3 separate regions of the Homo sapiens genome follow, and all the other regions are linked to region 1. The links are contacts of gene promoters, found by promoter capture Hi-C in human tissues and cell types (Jung and others, 2019). All regions are on one chromosome and are shown on one strand. Each heading gives the region's core, a stretch centred on a gene start or on the middle of the fragment in contact. The rest is flanking DNA. Distances are from core to core; before and after follow the strand shown.

Region 1 (3,571 bases), core at 495-2,994:
TTGAGAATACTTTTAAGCCTGCTGGCCTCCTTTGGGGCATTCTTTTTTCTCTTTTCAGCACGCATCTTTCTTTTCCACTTACTCCGTAAGCTTTTAGCCATGTTTTACCTGAAGTTAACAAAAACACACATTCAAAAGCAAATCTTTAATATAAAAAAGAAAACAGGCAAATCCTTAGAAAACCAGGCCAACAGGTATCTCTACAAAACAAGTGAAAAGTAAAACTCTTCAATCTGTTCACTTTTTAGGACTTAACATGCAACTTATATGAAGATCAACATGGTACATACACAGTCACTAAATAACAAGATATCAAATCAAACTTGTGGTCATAAGCAAACTACAAATCAAACCAATTCTGAAAGCACCTTGCATGTCTTTTTTCTTTTTTTTTTTTTGAGACAGAGTCTTGTTCTGTGTCCCAGGCTGGAGTGCAGTGGCGCGATCTCAGCTCACTGCAACCTCCACCTCTCAGGTTCACGCCATTCTCCTGCCTCAGCCTCCCGAGCAGCTGGGACTACAGGCGCCCGCCACCACGCCTGGCTAATTTTTTGTATTTTTAGTAGAGACGGGTTTTCACCGTGTTAGCCAGGATAGTCTCGATCTCCTGACATTGTGATCCGCCCGCCTCGGCCTCCCAAAGTGCTGGGATTACAGGCTTGAGCCACCGCGCCCGGCTGAATTTCTTTACAAAATACAGAAATTTAATTTCCCCAGAATGCAACAGCGTCATCACCTTACATTTATGCAACAGCTTACAAATTACAAATGATTTTTATAAACACTTCACCTCATCTTCATTATCCATCCTCTCAAGCCAACTTAACGACTGTAAACTTATCTATTCCTACTCTTGTTTTCTTTCCACTCAGTTCCGCCCTAAATCCTCCACAAGGTGCTCAGTGTGATCTTTTAAAAAAGCATTCACTGCCTTTCTTCGAGTTCTTTAAAGACCTCCTCCCTCATATATATTCAAGATCTACAAGGTCATTTGTGATCTGTCCCCTGCCTCCTTCAACTCTATTTCATTTCATTCTCCATCCCCATCCCCGCAGGCACCAACTACGTCTGTAAAGAGTCCAAACTATCTCTACGTCAGTGCCTTCATATTTGCTGTCCCTATGCCTGGCAACTGCTCTTCTCAAGGCTTGCTCCTTCATTCGCTACCTCAGAAAGGACTCCTCTGACCTCCGTAAGCTCCCTTCCCTGCTTATTAAGTGTTACAACCTGAAACCATTGTTTTCTGTCACGCCCCCCGACCCTCTCCCCAGACTGTAGACTCCACGAAGGTAGAGGGAAAGGTCTTGTTCACTGCTGAATCGCACACTTTTTGCATACTTGTTGAACGAACCACTAACATTTTTTGAACGCCGGCAATCACAGTCATTCCGCTCCCTTGTCTACATAACTCAACCCTTGCGAGGGGCTAGGAAAGCGGGCGGCAAACAACCTTGAGGGCCGAAGTTAACTTCAGCGGGAGTGAACGACAGGGGTGGGCTCCACTTTATCCAGTGCACTCGGAAGCCGGAGGGCCCCCACCAAAAAGAGCAAGGGGAACCCTCGCCCTCAACAAGGCCTGCATCTCCGGACTGGAGCTCAAGTATAGCCCAGCGAGTGTCAAGAAACGAAATTCTCCAAGGGTGGCGGAATCAAGCCCCAAGTCCCATGTGTCACTGGACCGGTGAGGAACCGAACTCACCTGAGAAACGAACACCCACACCTCACGCTCACGCCGACCGGAAGTCTTTGCACTTCCGTCTTCCGGGCGGAGGCCACCCGGGGCGGACGCATTGCACGCCGGGAGACAAAATGTCTCAAGAAGCCTTGAGAGGCGGGATTTTGGAACCCGGGCGCTGACGAGCTTCCGCCATTGGTGTGATCGCGGACCTAGAAACTTGGTCCGTCCCATACAGGTGTAGAAGTCGGATTTGGAGAATGCTGACGGGTGTCCGGTCAAGGTTAGGCCCCAGGTAGGTCCGCTTTCCGGACGTGGGCAGGGTAGCCCCGAGACTAACCTATGGAGTGAACCTGGCCAGGGGACCCTACTTGTCAGATAGGGAGCTCCGAGCCGACCTTTAGATCTGACCTCAGCGTTTACATGATACTCATGTATTTCCTTAGATCAAGTCAGCCTAGATCAGGTGTTCTTCCAGAGGCCGTATTGAGATCATTTTTATTTGCAGCCTGTGCATTTTCTCATCTCGGGTGATGGCCTCACAGATGTACACATATGTAAAACCGTATCAAACTGCACACTTTAAATATGTGCAACTTATTGCATGTCAGTTATACTCAAAGCGGTTACCAAAAACAGAAAACAAGCTTTTCCTACCCCAGAGAAGAATTTAAAGGGTAAAATGATCAAAGGATTTCAGTTCTATCAATGTTTACCTGTCTGATCACTTACGTATCAGACACAATGCTAAGCCTAGGACGATTGTCTTAGCTCACGAATAACACTTACTGTACAACTATTTCTACTGGCATAGGCTTTGGAACCATATAGGTCTGTGTTGTACTCTTGCTTCCAACACTTGTGAACGATATGGGTGAGTAATTAATGTCATAAGGGCCTGAATTTCCTTGTCCCTAAAGTGAACATAATACAACCTAATTGATGCTGTAAGAGTTCAACAAATGGTACCCTTTTTACATTATAGTTTCAAAAGTATAGCTACACAGTACTATTTGTAAGCAATGTTTCTAGAGATTTACGACATATACCCAAAAAACATGTCTTTAATGATGGCCTGGTAAACTCCTGCTGGTTGCCAGAAAAAGGGGTTCTGAGGCAATCTATGGGTACCTTTTTTCTTTAAATTTGTGTCCTTTATGAAACCATGCATAGTATGGAAATTACTGAATTCAGAATATAGCAAGGTTAAAGAGGCTGAAAAAAACCTAGAACATTTGATATAAAAAAAGGAAGCATGCCTAAGAAACCTGGTTTATTTAAATGAGATTTCGTTCTTATAAAGCAAGTGAATTTCTGTTTTACAAGTTAACCATATACTGTACCTCATCTTTCAAATGAGAAGTTAGCTACCTCACCCAAAAATATAAGTGCACATTGCATTTTAGAGAAAACTTATATTCTGATAGTCCATATTTACTGTATCTTGTTTAACATACCAGGACAAGACTTTTGAATAGGCACTTGGCACCAGAAAAAATAATTTACCTATTATGAAAATGTCATGTTGTTAAAATACCATGCCATGATTTAGCATTACAAGTGCTTTAAACAGCTGAGTAAAACACCCTTTTACTCCTTTTTACTTATGTCCCCTCACCAGTTATATAAAAGCAGTTCTAGAAAAGTGGCCTTAGTATATTTAAAAGTCTAATTCATTCCTTCATTCATGCCTTTGAATATGCACTCTATTATAGGCACTATGCTGAATTTGCAAAGATGAAGGAAACTAAACTACTGTTTTTGGGAAACTTTATCTCCTAATGGACAAACAAGGCTTAAGGGTCCAACTAAACATTGCAGTGGCTCATCACAGAGCTGGAAGGAGCCTATATATAGAACTAGAGGCACAGTGGGTGGCCCTGAATACCTTACAGG
Region 2 (3,265 bases), core at 665-3,164, 1.3 Mb before region 1:
GGGGCCGGGTGCCGTGGCTCATGTCTGTAATCCTAGCACTTTAGGAGGCTGAGGCAGGTGGATCACTTCAGATCAGGAGTTTCAGATCAGCCTGACCAACATGACGAAACCCTGTTCTACAAAAAATACAAAAATTAGCTGTGCGTGGTAGCACGTGCCTATAATCCCAGCTATTTGGGAGGCTGAGGTGGGAGGATTGCTTAAGCCCAGGAATCCAAGGCTGCATTGTGCTATGATTGTGCCTGTGAATAGCCACTATACTTCAGCCTGGGTGATATATTGAGACTGTATCTCTTAAAAAGAAGAAAAGGAATTGAGACTGAGATAGGTTAGATAAATTGTTTCAGTCTAGGAACCAAGTCGAATGGAGGACTGTATGACTCCAAGCCTGTGGTGTCATTTTTTGTTTTTGTTTTTGCTTTTGTGGTACTCCAGGCATCTATGTAAACCACCGTCATATGTAGTAAGGCACTTTCTATTGCTGTAGGGTATTTTCCTATTTTAAGAATCAATATGCTTACCTTTTGGCAAAATTGACTAAAATTTAGTAAAGATACATACTTTAAAAAAAATTGTGATGATTCAGTAGAATCAAGCTTTTACTAGTATTTTTGATATAACTTGTTATAGTCTCCAAAAATAACATCTATTTATGTATTTTTCTTTCAGGAGTTGATACCAAGTTGAAATTCACTCTTGAGCCATCTTTAGGTCAAAATGGTTTTCAGCAGGTAACTTTGATTTTGAAAACACTCTTCTTTTGGGGTTACCAACAGGGCACATTGAGATATATTCTCAAAGTGGAAATAACGTATTCTTTGATATGAATGTGAAGATGAGTCACTTCAACAATATTTCAGTTAAAGTAGCTTTTGAGCTACAAGTGGCCTGGGTTTATATTTGCAGTGACAAATTTTGCACTTTCTATTAATGGTACATGTGTGAAAAATTTTAAAATGAATAAATTTCACACCTGTACCATAATGTCTTTTATTCTGAACCCCATAATATATATTTTGGCTTATTAACCAGAGCTTCCCAACCATTTTGTTTGTACTGCAAAGGGGTCACAGATGTGTTAAGGGTGCCCAAGGGGTGGGACGTGGCACAGTAATAGCCATGGACTGATCACTTCTGTCTGAAAGAAGCTTTGACTGTTTACCCCATTGTGCTGTGCAAATTTCAGCACATTCTATGAATGTCAAGATGGGAAAAAGATTGCAAAGTGCTTATCTAGGTCACTGTGATCACCTCCTGGGATTTCTTCTTTGTTCCTAGTGGTACGATGCTCTCAAGGCAGTTGCCAGGCTATCCACAGGAATACCAAAGGAATGGAGGAGAAAGGTAAGGAGGACTCATAGGGCTAGAATACAGAAGGATCATCACTGCCCTTCTTTAGAGCCTCTGGAATGTCAAAAAATATATTCTAGGTTTAGTTACTTGAAAACCTGTCTTGATTATTCATTCATGCAATAAATATTTATTGATTATTCTGTGCCAAGTAATGTTCTAGGTTCTAGGGATATAGCAATGGAAAAAAACAAAACAGACCAAAGTTTTTTGTCCTCATGGAGCTTACAATGAATAAAATATAAAGTATGTCAGATGGTAATAAGTGCCATGGATAAAAATAAAGTGTAGAGAGAAATAAAGAGCGTTTAGGAGAAAAGGGGTAAGGAGGTGGAATTTTAAATAGCAAGGTGACATTCGAGTAGGCCCCTGAAGGAGGTGAGAAGCCAGCCATGCAAGTACCTGGGAGGAGATACTCCAGGCAGAGGGAACAGCCAGCGCAAGCACCCTCAGCCCTCAGGCGGGAGCATCTTGCATCTGGGTTGTATTCAAGCAAAGATGGGGTGGGGCGGGGCTGGGGCACAGTGAACAAAGGGGGAAGCAATAGGTGAGGGGGTCATAGAGGTAATGTGGTGGGTTGAGGGGTGGCAGATCGTGGAGAACCTGGTGGGCTATCATAGGTCTTGGGCTTTTGCTCAGTGTGAGCTAGGAAGCACTGGGAAGTTTTGAGCAGGGGAGTGACATGATCTGACTTTTATTATGAACGGGCTACTCTGGGTACTGACTTGAGAATATGAGAGACAAGGGCTGAAGTAGGGAGACCAGTAGGAGACTTGCAGTAGCTCAGGCAACAGATGCATCAGGGTTGTGGTAGTGGAGATGGAAATCCTAGACGTATTTTGAAGGCTGAGCTTACATGAATTCCTCTTGGACTGAATATAAGGTATAAAAGGGATGTCAAAGATGACTTCAGGATTTTGGCCTGAGTGATTGGGAGGTAGAATTACTGTTTACTCAGATGGGAGGAGTAGGTGAGGTGTGTGTGTGTCTGTACGTGTAGGTAGGGTAGGTGGTGGAATAAGTGATTGGTTTTGGATCTGTTAAGGTTGACATGCCTATTAGATATCTAATTTGAAGGTATCAAGTGAGCATTTGGATATATGCTTCTGAGGTTAGGAGAGAAGTCTGGCTGGATATATAAATCAATGTTTATTTCTGCTAAATCATGTTTAAATACCAAAACTTGAAATACACACTTAGGATATTAATTTATAAGCCTAATCTTTATATTTCTAGAATTTGAAAATTGAGGGTTCCTCAAAATAGTCATGAAAATGACATTATGAAATATAACTTTCAGAAACAGATTTTCTGGATAAGATAATCAAAGGGTAAAAATATCCAGTGGCTCTTTTAAAAAACTTACTCATTATGGGAGCCCATCTGTCAGTTTTGTGTATGTGTGTGAGAGGGATGGTTTAAAGGCAGAGGCCACTCCATGGTGAAAAAAAGCCCCATTCACCATGAGTGACCAGATGGCTCTTGCCTAAGTATGGAGAGCAATACAGAGCCAAGTAAAACAAGCTTATGAGATTATACAGGTTATTCAATGAACAGAAATACAATTTGAAAATCTTCTTGGTTTGTCTTTCTAACAGTATCCCTAATGCCTGGATTGCTGCTTGACACATAGTGGGAACTCAACAAATATTTATTGAAAGAGTAAATGAAAGGCCCTAAATGGTGCAAATCAGTGCAACAAACATTTCAGTGAGACTCTTGTAGATTTCTACTTATGAGCGATAGATAGCTGGTCTAGGGACACTTCCCATTTTCTTGTCGAATGCAATAACTACTTTCTAATAAAGGTGAAGTTATATATTCTACTTTGGCATTCTCCTTTGTCTATGTAATATTTTAGGTTTGGTTGACCTTGGCAGATCATTATTTGCACAGTATAGCCATTGACTGGGAC
Region 3 (3,560 bases), core at 939-3,438, 1.5 Mb before region 1:
GCAGTGGTGCAGTCATGGCTCACTGCAGCCTCAACCTCCCGGGCCCAAGTGATCCTCCCACCTCAGCCTCCTGAATAGCTGGGACTAGAGGCATGTGCCACTATTCCCAGCTAATTATTATTATTTGTAGAGACAGGGTCCTCACTATGTTGCTCAGGCTGGTCTCGAACTCCTGGGTTCAAGCAGTCCTCCCTCCTCGACCTCCCAAAGTGCTGGGAGGTCTCACTCCCAGCCTAGGATGAGCCTCACTCCCTCACTCAGCCTAGGATTTTCTTTTTAAAGGTGAAATAATATTCTAATGTATATATACATTGCATTTTTAATAGTCTTATTTCATGACATTAAATAAGATATACTTATTTAACGTCAATCATCGTTTGGATCGTTTCCATGTGACTTAGAGCTTTAAAACAGGTGATGTTAAAGTTGAAAATAAAGGCCTGTAATCCCAGCACTTTGGGAGGCTGAGGGAGGCAGATCCCTTGAGCTCAGGAGTTGGAGACCAGCCTGGGCAACATGATGAAACCCTGTCTCCACTAAATATACAAAAACTAGCTGGGCGTGGTGGTGTGTGCCTGTAATCCCAGCAACTCAGGAGGCTGAGGTGGGAGGATCTCTTGAGCCCAAGAGGTGGAGGTTGCAGTGAGCCGAGACCGTACCACTGCCTTCCAGCCTGGGTGACAGAGTGAGACCCTGTCTCACAGGCGCACACACACACACGCGCGCGCGCGCGTTGAAAACAAATGAGAAACCCTATGGACGTGGGGGACTAGACCTGTACAGTTGTCAAGCCTGGTTTTGAGAAAGTAACTGACTCCAGCTGGGGGTGGTGGCTCATGCCTGTAATCCCAGCACTTTGGGAGGCCAAGGCCAGGAGGATTACTTGAGCTCAGGAGTTTGAGACCAGCCAGGCAATATGGTGAGACCCCATCTCTCTCTCTCTTTTTTTTTTTTTTTTTAAGTTACTGACTCCTAGGGGGCATTTAAGCGGTTGAATATCAGCATTTCTTTAGCTATTTAGCACCTCCCTTGTGACTTTAAAGTACCTAGTGATTTTTTTTTTTTGGATGGAGTTTCGCCCTTGTTGCCCAGGCTAGAGTGCAGTAGTGTGATCTCGGCTCACTGCAACCTCTGCCTCCCGGGTTCAAGCGATTCTTCTGCCTCAGCCTCCCGAGTAGCTGGGATAACAGGCATGTGCCACCACGCCCGGCTAATTTTGTATCTTTAGTAGAGACGGGGTTTCTCCATGTTGGTCAGGCTGGTCTCGAACTCCCGACCTCAGGTGATCCGCCTATCTTGGCCTCCCAAAGTGCTGAGATTACAGGCGTGAGCCACCGTGCTCGGCCTGTGATTCTGATTTCTATATATGGAGCCATCTAATTATAATTATTTGTTGCAAATTATCTTTTCTACTGCATTAAGTTTCCTTATGGGCTGATTAAAATGTTCTGGTTGACAGCTCACCTGGTTATTTAAATTGTTTGCTTTATCTTCTGGCTTAGCAATTGTACTTCTAAAAAACTATCTTAAGGAAAAAAGTCAAGGATATATGAAAATATTTCTTATGAGAAGGTTCATCAAGGGCCGGGCCCGGTTTCTCATGCCTGTAATCCCAGCACTTTGGGAGGCCGAGGCAGGCAGATCACCTAAGGTCAGGAGTTCAAGACAAGCCTGGCCAAAATGGTGAAACCCTGTCTCTACTAAAAATACAAAAATTAGCTGGGCATGGTGGCGGGTGCCTGTAGTCTCAGCTACTCAGGAGGCTGAGGCAGGAGAATCGCTTGAATCCTGGAAGCAGAGGTTGCAGTAAGCCAAGATCATGCCACTGCACTCCAGCCTGGGCGACAGAACGAGACTCCATCTCAAAAAAAAAAAAAAAAAAAAAAAAAAAAAGATTCATCAAAACTTTGTAATTAATACAAAGTTTTGTAATTAATTAATACAAAGTTAATTAATACAAATTAATACAAAGTTTTGTAATTAATACAAAGTTTTGTAATACAAAACTTTGTAATAGTGAGAAGTTTGGAAACAGTAGATATTCAATTATTTAAAATTATTTGTAGAGTGCAGTGGTTTAAAAGTATAGCTTCTGGATTCAGACTAAGTGAATTCTGATAGTTGTGCTGCCACTTAGAACTTTATGACTTTGGGCAAGTTTCTTTCTTTCTTTTTTTTTTTTTTTCTTGAGATGGAGTCTCACTCTGTTGCCCAAGCTGGAATGCAGTGGTACGATCTCAGCTCACTGCAACCTCCGCCTCTGGGGTTCAAGTGATTCTCGTGCCTCAGCCTCAGCTGGGACTACAGGCACATGGCACCACACCTGGCTAATGTATTTTAGTAGAGACAGGGCTTCACCATGTTGCCCAGGGTGGTCTTGAACTCCTGAGCTCAGGTGATTCCGCCCCTCCCCACCCGCCTCACCCTCCCAAAGTGCTGGGATCACCGGTGTGAGCCATCACGCCTGGCCCGGGCAAGTTTCTTAATGCAATTGTTAATTGTAGCTTAACAGCTGTCCTTGGATTATTTGAGTATGAAAGAAGTTATTAATACCTTGTAAAATGCTTAGAACATGTCTGGTCCATAGTAAAGCTCCATAAAGATTTAGCTATTGTTACTGTTAAAGTGTTAGATGCACAGATACTCACAACATTTTTCAAATGGAAAAGAATTTTAAAACAGCATGTATAGAAGCCGGTGAGGTGGCAAGCACCTGTAGTCCAGCTGCATGGGAGACTAAGGCAGAACGACCGCTTGAGCCGAGGAAGGAGTTTGGGGCTGTAGTATGGGATGATTGTTCTTGTGAATAGCCACTGCATTCCAGCCTGGGCAACCTAGTGAGACCCCGTCTCTTAAAAAAAAAATAAAACCCCAAAACAAAAATAAACCAAAAACCCCAACAAAACAGCATGTATAATGTATCATTAAATATAAGAATAGGAAAAAAAAACCGGAATGATCTACTCTGGGTGATAGGACAATCTCTTTTGGCTTCTGTGTTTTTTCTGTCCTACAACTCTTCTGTTTTATAACTGAAAAAAATGTTTTGCATGTGAATTTTAGACTGGGGTCTTTGGGTAAAAGCACCTAGAGATTACTGGCAGGTTAATTCTAAAAAGGGCAATTTGTTTTTTCACTTTATCTCAGAGTTTCATTTGTTTCCCAGTGATTGACTAATTATTTTAACAAAGTAAAGCTTCATTGTTGTGTGTATGCAATTGAATCGAAAATATACTTTTCATACAAAGACAACTTCCTAAAGGTAAGTGTAAACTTGTATGTAGTTTGTTAATCTTATTGTGGTATTTTGTTTTTCTTAAACACAGTTTCCTGTTCTTTTGCTTTTGCATGTCAACATTGCTGAAAATAAATATTTTGCTCTGCAGGGATAGTAAGCCAGATGGAGTGGTATTTATAATTTGAGGAAATAGCTTAAACTTTGTCATCAGTTTAAATTGCATTAAAAAACCTGAAGCACATTGATTAGAGTTGTTTAAGGTAGAGAACCAGAAATATTCTAAATATCCTATGCCTAACCTGTCAAAACTGTTCCTGAAATA

What was found. The method cuts DNA at HindIII sites, captures the fragments that hold promoters and counts their contacts. A contact is called where the count stands out against the background at its distance.
Region 2: a contact is called between a fragment that was not itself captured here and the fragment with the promoter of LLPH in region 1, in 1 of the 25 tissues and cell types used here (bladder).
Region 3: a contact is called between a fragment that was not itself captured here and the fragment with the promoter of LLPH in region 1, in 1 of the 25 tissues and cell types used here (psoas muscle).

The regions. Positions count from the first base shown.
Region 1 is chr12:66,129,006-66,132,576 of GRCh38, forward strand. LLPH (LLP homolog, long-term synaptic facilitation factor) reads right to left here and starts at 1,745. Exons shown (of 3, transcript NM_032338.4): 1 at 1,700-1,745; 2 at 1-108. The coding sequence starts at 101. It overlaps LLPH-DT (LLPH divergent transcript), which reads left to right and starts at 1,746. Exons shown (of 2, transcript NR_125724.1): 1 at 1,746-1,970. RefSeq lists enhancers at 1,469-1,618, 1,659-1,768. The HindIII fragment of the contact is 6,410 bases long and covers 1-3,571 here.
Region 2 is chr12:64,827,166-64,830,430 of GRCh38, forward strand. TBC1D30 (TBC1 domain family member 30) reads left to right here. Exons shown (of 12, transcript NM_015279.2): 2 at 670-731; 3 at 1,279-1,344; 4 at 3,212-3,265. Among named protein-coding and RNA genes, the nearest start is that of TBC1D30, 4.2 kb to the left of the region's middle. RefSeq lists an enhancer at 365-414. The HindIII fragment of the contact is 5,206 bases long and covers 1-3,265 here.
Region 3 is chr12:64,640,696-64,644,255 of GRCh38, forward strand. All of the region lies in intron 1 of RASSF3 (Ras association domain family member 3), which reads left to right. Among named protein-coding and RNA genes, the nearest start is that of MIR548Z, 20 kb to the left of the region's middle. RefSeq lists an enhancer at 748-1,251. The HindIII fragment of the contact is 4,634 bases long and covers 1-3,560 here.